Linked DNA regions of Homo sapiens: region 2 is linked to region 1. Evidence: promoter capture Hi-C in human tissues and cell types (Jung and others, 2019). All regions are on one chromosome and are shown on one strand. Each heading gives the region's core, a stretch centred on a gene start or on the middle of the fragment in contact. The rest is flanking DNA. Distances are from core to core; before and after follow the strand shown. Region 1 holds the start of OR51S1 (olfactory receptor family 51 subfamily S member 1). Region 2 holds the start of OR51L1 (olfactory receptor family 51 subfamily L member 1).

Evidence for each region. Contacts are between HindIII fragments. The study calls those that stand out against the background at their distance.
Region 2: a contact is called between the fragment with the promoter of OR51L1 here and the fragment with the promoter of OR51S1 in region 1, in 1 of the 25 tissues and cell types used here (aorta).

The regions. Positions count from the first base shown.
Region 1 is chr11:4,847,311-4,851,065 of GRCh38, forward strand. It overlaps OR51S1 (olfactory receptor family 51 subfamily S member 1), which reads right to left and starts at 1,898. Exons shown (of 1, transcript NM_001004758.1): 1 at 927-1,898. The coding sequence starts at 1,898. The coding sequence ends at 927. The region is part of intron 2 of MMP26 (matrix metallopeptidase 26); the gene reads left to right. The HindIII fragment of the contact is 3,311 bases long and covers 1-3,113 here.
Region 2 is chr11:4,992,463-4,996,181 of GRCh38, forward strand. It overlaps OR51L1 (olfactory receptor family 51 subfamily L member 1), which reads left to right and starts at 2,389. Exons shown (of 3, transcript NM_001004755.2): 1 at 2,389-2,873. The HindIII fragment of the contact is 11,490 bases long and covers 1,647-3,719 here.

The sequences.
Region 1 (3,755 bases), core at 648-3,147:
AGACCGATAATTCCAAATGCCACTTGTAAGATTCCATTTACATAAAACATTATAAGTGTTCACTAAACAGATAATTATAGTTAAGTTTGGGGGATGTAATTTAAGATTATTCTTATTTGTTCTATTTTTTCTGAAATATGCAAAAATTTAAAAAATTAAATTAAATTTTATTTTAAACTGACAATAATTATGCATAGTCATAGTGATGTTTTGGTGCATACCATGTATAGTGATCAGATCAGGGTGATTAGCATATTTATAATCTCAAACATTTCTCATTTCTTTGTGTTGAGGACATTCAATATACATATGTATTCAAAAATATACTAACATTTTGAAAACTAAATGAAGAATTAAAAAAATTATATTCCCTCTTTTTTTCCTGGCCTGATCAGAGTTAAATAACCTATCTCTTGGTGTGAAGAATCTAAATGAGAGACTTACTTGCATTTTCCTCATGTATCTAATTCCTAAGGATTGGTCAGAATTCTTACTTCTTAAGGAGGTACAATACAAATGGAAGATCTTCTATCTAGTTGAGAAGAATGCTTCTGTCTTATTTTTCCTTTGCTATGTAGATGATTAACTCTTCTAGCTTTATCCAGTATTAAGGTATAGATATAGTGACAGGACTAACAACAATAAGATAACAACAGGCACACACTTGGATAGTTGTGACAAGATCTGGACTCTGGCCCTTCCTATGTCATTGATATGTAATGTACCAGTGGGTGGATCATGTTCATTCTTTGGGGCTTGTAAGTTTGCATCAATATACACAGGCATACTTCCAGGGACAGGAAGCTACATGCACATATATGCACTTATGTGTACGTGAATGATCATTTCATGCTTGGTGAGCTGAGTTCTCACAGAAACTTTAGTATCAGGAGCCCTGTACCACCAAACACGGAGGGACATCCTACTCACTGAGCACCACCCACCTTCCTGGGCTGCAACCTGTTGAGTATTCTCTTTCTAATCTCCTTCATCTTGACACTATAGAGAATAGGGTTTATCAATGGAGGAAGAAGGAAATGGACATAGGATAGAAGAGTATGGGTATGCTGAGTGATTGGCAGCTCAGGATGGTTAATCAGTGCCAGGAGGATCATAGGGATATAGAAGAGGAGCACTGCAGAGAGGTGGGCAGCACAGGTTTGACCAGCCTTCCAGCGATCCTCTCTGGACTCCACACCTTGCAACACCTTGCCAATCAGGCCATAGGAGAAGAAAATAAGCAGGGGGTCCAAACCCATGGCTGAAAGAACCACAAATAGGCTGTAGGCTGCACCCCAAGCTTCTGGGCAGGCCAAACGAGCCACATCTGGATGCAAGCAATAAGAATGGGTTAGGACCTGTGGGAGGCAGTAGGGCATGTAGGCCAGCAGGAATGGCAGGGGCAGATGGAGACCCAGGCATCGAAAAGAAATGGCCAGGCTGATTTTGCTAATTACACCATTGGTGAGGAGCGCTGGGTAGTGGAGAGGTCGGCAGATGGCCAGTGCCCGATCAATGGACATGGCGAGCAAGACAGAGGACTCCATGACAGAAAAGACATGGATAAAAACCATCTGTAGAAGGCAGGCTGAGGCAGGGACAGTGTGAGCACCAGCAAGGGCGATGCCCAGCAGTGTGGGCATCAGGGCAGTGACCAATCCAATATCAGACACACTAAGCAAGAAGAGGAAGAAGTGCATTGGGCGGTGCAGGGCGGGCTGCAGGGCAATGATCCAGAGGATGGTGCCATTTCCCAGTGCAGAGAGAAGGTAGACAGCAATGAGGGGCAATGTCCACCAGGAGGGTGCACCTGATAGGCCTGGCATGCCCACCAGCAAGAAGGTGGGGGCCATTGAAGTGCTGCTATTGGGGGCTATCTGAGTTGGTAATGTTGACATAGTTCAGGATTCCACGTTGAACTCTGGAACCTGAAAAATGATTAGAAAGGTTTACTTAATCGCGTGCCAAATTTGCATGAAACGTTCCAAAATAGCCTGCATCTTCCCTTCCCTGACTCATGCACTCACATACACGTACACATATACACATTTCCTCCCTGTGCACGCACCCATCCTAATAGTATATGCAGCATTCATTCCTTGCCTTTGAGGTTTTTCTATAGCTGTCCTCATAGCTCTGTGGTTCTGTTTCTTTTCCTAGATTGTTTTCACATGTTTTTTTAGCTTGCCTCTCCCTGTAGTGTTATCCTATTTTTTCCCTCCCTTTATGACAAACACTTTAGGAAACAGTCCATTTATCCATATTTTTTTCTCTTCCCAACCCCAGACAGTCTGACTTCTAGACTGCCTTAAGATACTTACATTTTGGTGCACTTTAACTGTTCTTATTAAGTCCCCAATTACTCCTTTATTTCTAAATTAAGGGGCACTCATTTTTTCTAAGCTTGATTTATTTCTTAATGAGCTTTGGCTACTATGGATCTATTTTTTACTTTTTTAAAAATTCTCCCTTTCAGAATTTAGCCTTTTACTTAACTTTGCTGTGTCCCTATGATTTATACATGGGTATTTAAAATTTTTATTTTATTGAAATGTAATAATTGCACATATTTAAAGGGGTGCATGTGGTATTTTGTTACATGCATAGAATGTGAAATGATAAAGTCAGGGTATTTAGGACATCCATCGCCTTGAGTAATTATAATTTTTATATGTTGGAACATTTCAAGTTCTGTCTACTAGCTATTTTGAAATATACAATACATTGTTGTTAACTATAGTCACCCTACTTGGCTACTGAACATTATAACTTATTTCTTCTATCTAAGTGTATGTTTATATTTTTGAGATATTTTTCCTTGGCCCTCTTTATTTTCCTAAGTGGTCTTATCTACTCTCATGACATCAACTCGAGTCTACAAACAGATGAATTACTAATATATATTCCCAGATCCTTCTAGGTTCATCTTACCTTGGATGTTCCAGGCAATTTAAATTCAAATAATCCAAAGCAGATCTTAACAGACACATCTTAATGCCTCTTTCAGAGTCATCAGTTAGGAAACAGTGAAGAGGAATTTATGTCAATAGCAAAACCAATAAGACACTCGTTTGTTCCCTAAGTCAGTTGTTGGTGCCACCATTAATCAATTTCCCAAAATAAAAACCTGAGAATTAGCTTCTCCTCACATGTAATATCCAAATATTATTTATAATTTTAACAAGAAGGACTGGACACACACCATAGTCATATTTTCTTCCCTGCCCAAATGCCCAGAAAGATTGGAACTGAAATTCTGGACAAAAAGACCACGAAAATTGGGATCTAAAGAAAAGTAAAATAAAAAAACTTGCTAGGTTTTGTTTTCAGGATAATGATATAGATACAAGTTAACCCTAAACATTTATTACAAAAATTCCAAATACATATGTTATAAAATATTATGTTAAAATTTTAAATAAAATATAACTTTCAAGCTAAAAAAGGAAGATAAATGCAACAAAAACCTTAATCCCACAGACTTTTAAAAAGCAATAAATAGAAACAGACATTCATTTCCAGTGTGATGGAGTGAGGAGGCTAACCCTAAACATTTATTACAAAAATTCCAAATACATATGTTATAAAATATTATGTTAAATTTTTTAATAAAATATAACTTTCAAGCTAAAAAAGGAAGATAAATGCAACAAAACCCTTAATCCCACAGACTTTTAAAAAGCAATAAATAGAAACAGACATTCATTTCCAGTGTGATGGAGTGAGGAGGCTAACACATCCTCTCCCCTACAAAG
Region 2 (3,719 bases), core at 1,139-3,638, 150 kb after region 1:
TTTGCTATGTTCAACCACTGTGATCAGAACAAGAAAGAAGTGTACACAACAGTGGAGAACTCTGGCAGAGATGGCCACGGGACTGCAAGAAAAGAAAGCATAAGATTAGGAATAGACCTTTGCATTTTCCTACACAGGTAGAGTTTAAGGAATGTTATTTTCTATGCTGTATTGAATATGCCAGTTATGGAGACCAATTGGTTTAATGGCTTATCTAGTTATTAGCTATGAAACTTTGGTTAAGTCAAGTAACTTAAACAAAGTTAAGTTCAGGGCAGCTGAATCAACACTCAATTCCTAACAAGTCCTTTGCATCTCAAACTCTCCCTTTGTATTTGCTTCTGGAGAACCTAACCTCTGAAGTTGACTATTTGAAAAGCCAATGAAACTGTCAATCTACTGTGACACTAGTAGTATAAAAAAGAAAATGCATATCAAAACAACATGAGTAATGAGAAAAGCAGATACCGTGTGACTACTGCAGATCTTGAAAAATTATGAAAGTACTTAAGAATAACTTATAACCAATAAATATCAAAATGTATATCCAAACTATGTATTCCTAGATAAATACAATTTATAAAAATTGGTAAAAGAATAAATAGAAGATCTAAATGGTCCTATAAATGTTGGATAATGTAATCCTTAATTACATCTCTCCACAACTAGTTTTAAAACTGACAAAGAGAAAACCTGAATTGTCCGTAAGGATTAACTAGAAAGCCTATAATTAAAACTACCCTGGGATGGCCATTTAATTAAAAAACAACATACCAGCATATGCAAAATCTTCCCGGGGAGAAGAGAAAGAATATTTCTTCAGGTATTTTAGAGCTTTGTGTAATCTCAATCTCATAACAAAACATGACAAAGACATTACAGTAAGGAAAATTTCAGGCCGTGCTTACTGATGAACATCGATGTCAAAATTCTAAACGAAATATTTGCAAACCAAATCTGGCAATAAATAAAGAAAAGAAAATGGCATTCCAAACTTGAGTTTATTCCAGAAAGACAAGTTGATATTTGAAAATCAATCAATATAATTAATCACATTAACATGATATTAAAGAAAAATAATATGTATCATAAAAGCATGAATTTCAATAAACCCAAAATAATTTTATGAAATTCAGCATCTATTTTTGACAAAATCCCTTATCACATGAACAATAGAAGATGACAACATTCTCGGATAAAAGCAGGTACAAAAAATCTTAGCAAACATACTTAATGGTAAAATGTTGTTAACCACACCTGTGATATCTGCAAAAAGAAAAGAAAACAATTTTTATCCCTTCTCCCCAAAATGCACTGGAGATCTTATCCAATGCAACAAAGCAATAAATATAGAAAACGATAATGAAGATTTTAAATAAGAGAAAAAGAAGCTGACATTACTTGTGGAGGTGTGATTTGGTGCAAAATAAGGCCTTAGAGAATACAGATCACTTATTAAAAATAAAAAATAAGTTCAGCTTTTCTGAAAAAAGAAAAATTAACTTTATTTTTATGTAACAGTCCCAAATATTTAGAAAAAATTAATCATGCTACTTACGTTAGCACAATTGAATGCCAAATATGTGAGAATAAACCTAGTGTAAAATATGTAATCTCCAAACAGACAAGTATAAAATAATATTGAGAAAAAATAAAGACCTTAATTAATTGAAGTTCCTGTTCTTGGATTAGTTATCTTACATTCTAAACATGTAAATTCTCCCCAAATCGATCTACAGATTCAATACATTCTCAATAGTAGTCTCAATGTATATCTTGGTAGAAATGGATAACCTGTTTCTAAAATTTATTAATAAATGCAAAGAGGTAGGATAGCCAATATGCAAAGAAAAAAAATGTGTTGGGAGATGATGCTTCTTACCAAGCACTGAGGAAGCAGCAATGAACTGGATAGTAGCGTTTGCCTTTAAAGTGCTTAGTGTGCCTTCTTGAACCCTGTTGCTTAATAAATGCTTATGAAGCACATGACTAATAAATAACTCTGTTTAGTGAAATGTGGTAAACATCTTATAATGGAAAGACTTATCATTGCACTTTCTCATCATTGTTCTGTACAATGCCCCTAGTTAAAGCCGAAATTTCAGTATTCTTCTGGATCACAGTAGTTATCATAAATTTACTTTCTTACACTCATTTGAGAAAACTATTAGAGAACTAAGAATGGTGGATGAAAACAGGGATGCATTTCTACTATTTTCAGTATTATGATCATATGCTCTTGCCATACCTGTGGTTAAGGGCTTTTTATGGCCATTTCATCTCTGGGGATCCAACAGACTCTGACACCAATCCCTAATTTTCTTTGCCAGGAGACACCAGGAGTATTTATAGAGATGGTGGAAGCCTTCAAGCCTCACCACTCACAGAGTCGAAGGTTTTCAAAACCTGAGGTTCATAGAGACTTAAAATTGTAGCATCTTTAATCAGTACAGGTTTGATTTTCAGGTAGAGATGGGAAGTTTTCTCAGGTGAGAGATAAGCCCGTAAGAGCAGCAACTTAAACCACAGACACACAAAGAGAAATTAGAAGAAAGAAACAGCCAATCAAAGGGACCGGAAAAAATAGAGGATTACATGCTGAAAAGACACAAACTTAGATAAAAACAAAATATAAAAAAATGGCAGCAGGAAGGAGGCTAGAAAAGATAGTAAAGATAATTTGACACATAAAATGAGATAAAGAGAGAAAAAGCCACAGACATAGGAACAGAAAGAAAATATGACTTTAACTATAGTGAAGAAAAGTTTAGTCAGAGAAAGACAAAATGGAACTGTGGATCATTTGAGAAATGGGCTACTGATTGCAAATTAACTAGGCATATTGATTCAATTGCCTTATATTTAAATTTCAGGTAAGTGTGAATTTTTAAATTATAAATAGTTGGTAGATTTTAGCACATTTTGTATGTGGATATAGTTTGCTAAAGAGAGTAAAATTATGAGAAAGATGATGTACCATTTATGCAAAAGGAAAAAGAATTATTCTCATCTGTGAAAAAAATTAAATTTATTACAGTATTGTAATGTCTTGTTCCAATTATTTTCAGCGATTTTAAGATAAGCGATAAGCTGATTAGCAGAGAATAGGTTTTGATACTAGAGAGGCTGTAAAAAAATGGTCTTATGTTCAGTAGTTCTCCCTTAATTACCTGGAATAGGTGAATGTGTGACATAAGCCTATTCATGCCTCTGCCCTTTGAAACAGTCTTGTTATTACTCCCAGTTCTTTTCTATTATTTCTCTTTCGACCTCAGTGTGATTAAGTTGTACTAAAATCAACAAAGAACCACAAAGAATCATTGTCAGTGACCCAGAAATAGAGTCAAAAGAAAATGAATAGAGAAAAGACAATAAATGGATTTTAAAAAGTGAAAGACATGACAGATATGGCAGTGAGAGGATAAGAAAGGGAAAGTACACACAGAAATAGAAACGGGAAAGGGGCTTAGGGGGCCCGGGTAGTGGAGGAAATGCGGAAAAGTAGCTCAAAGCATACAAACTTGCAGTTATGTAGGAAGAATAAGTCTAGAGATCTAATATACAGCATGACCACAGTTCATAATATTGTAGAATGGGAACTCTTTTCAGGTGAGGGATAAATCAATGAGATAAAGCAGTGAGTTAATAATATTGTAGAAATGGGGACTCTTTTTAAGTGAGGGATAAACCAATATGAGCAAGAATTAAAACCACAGAAA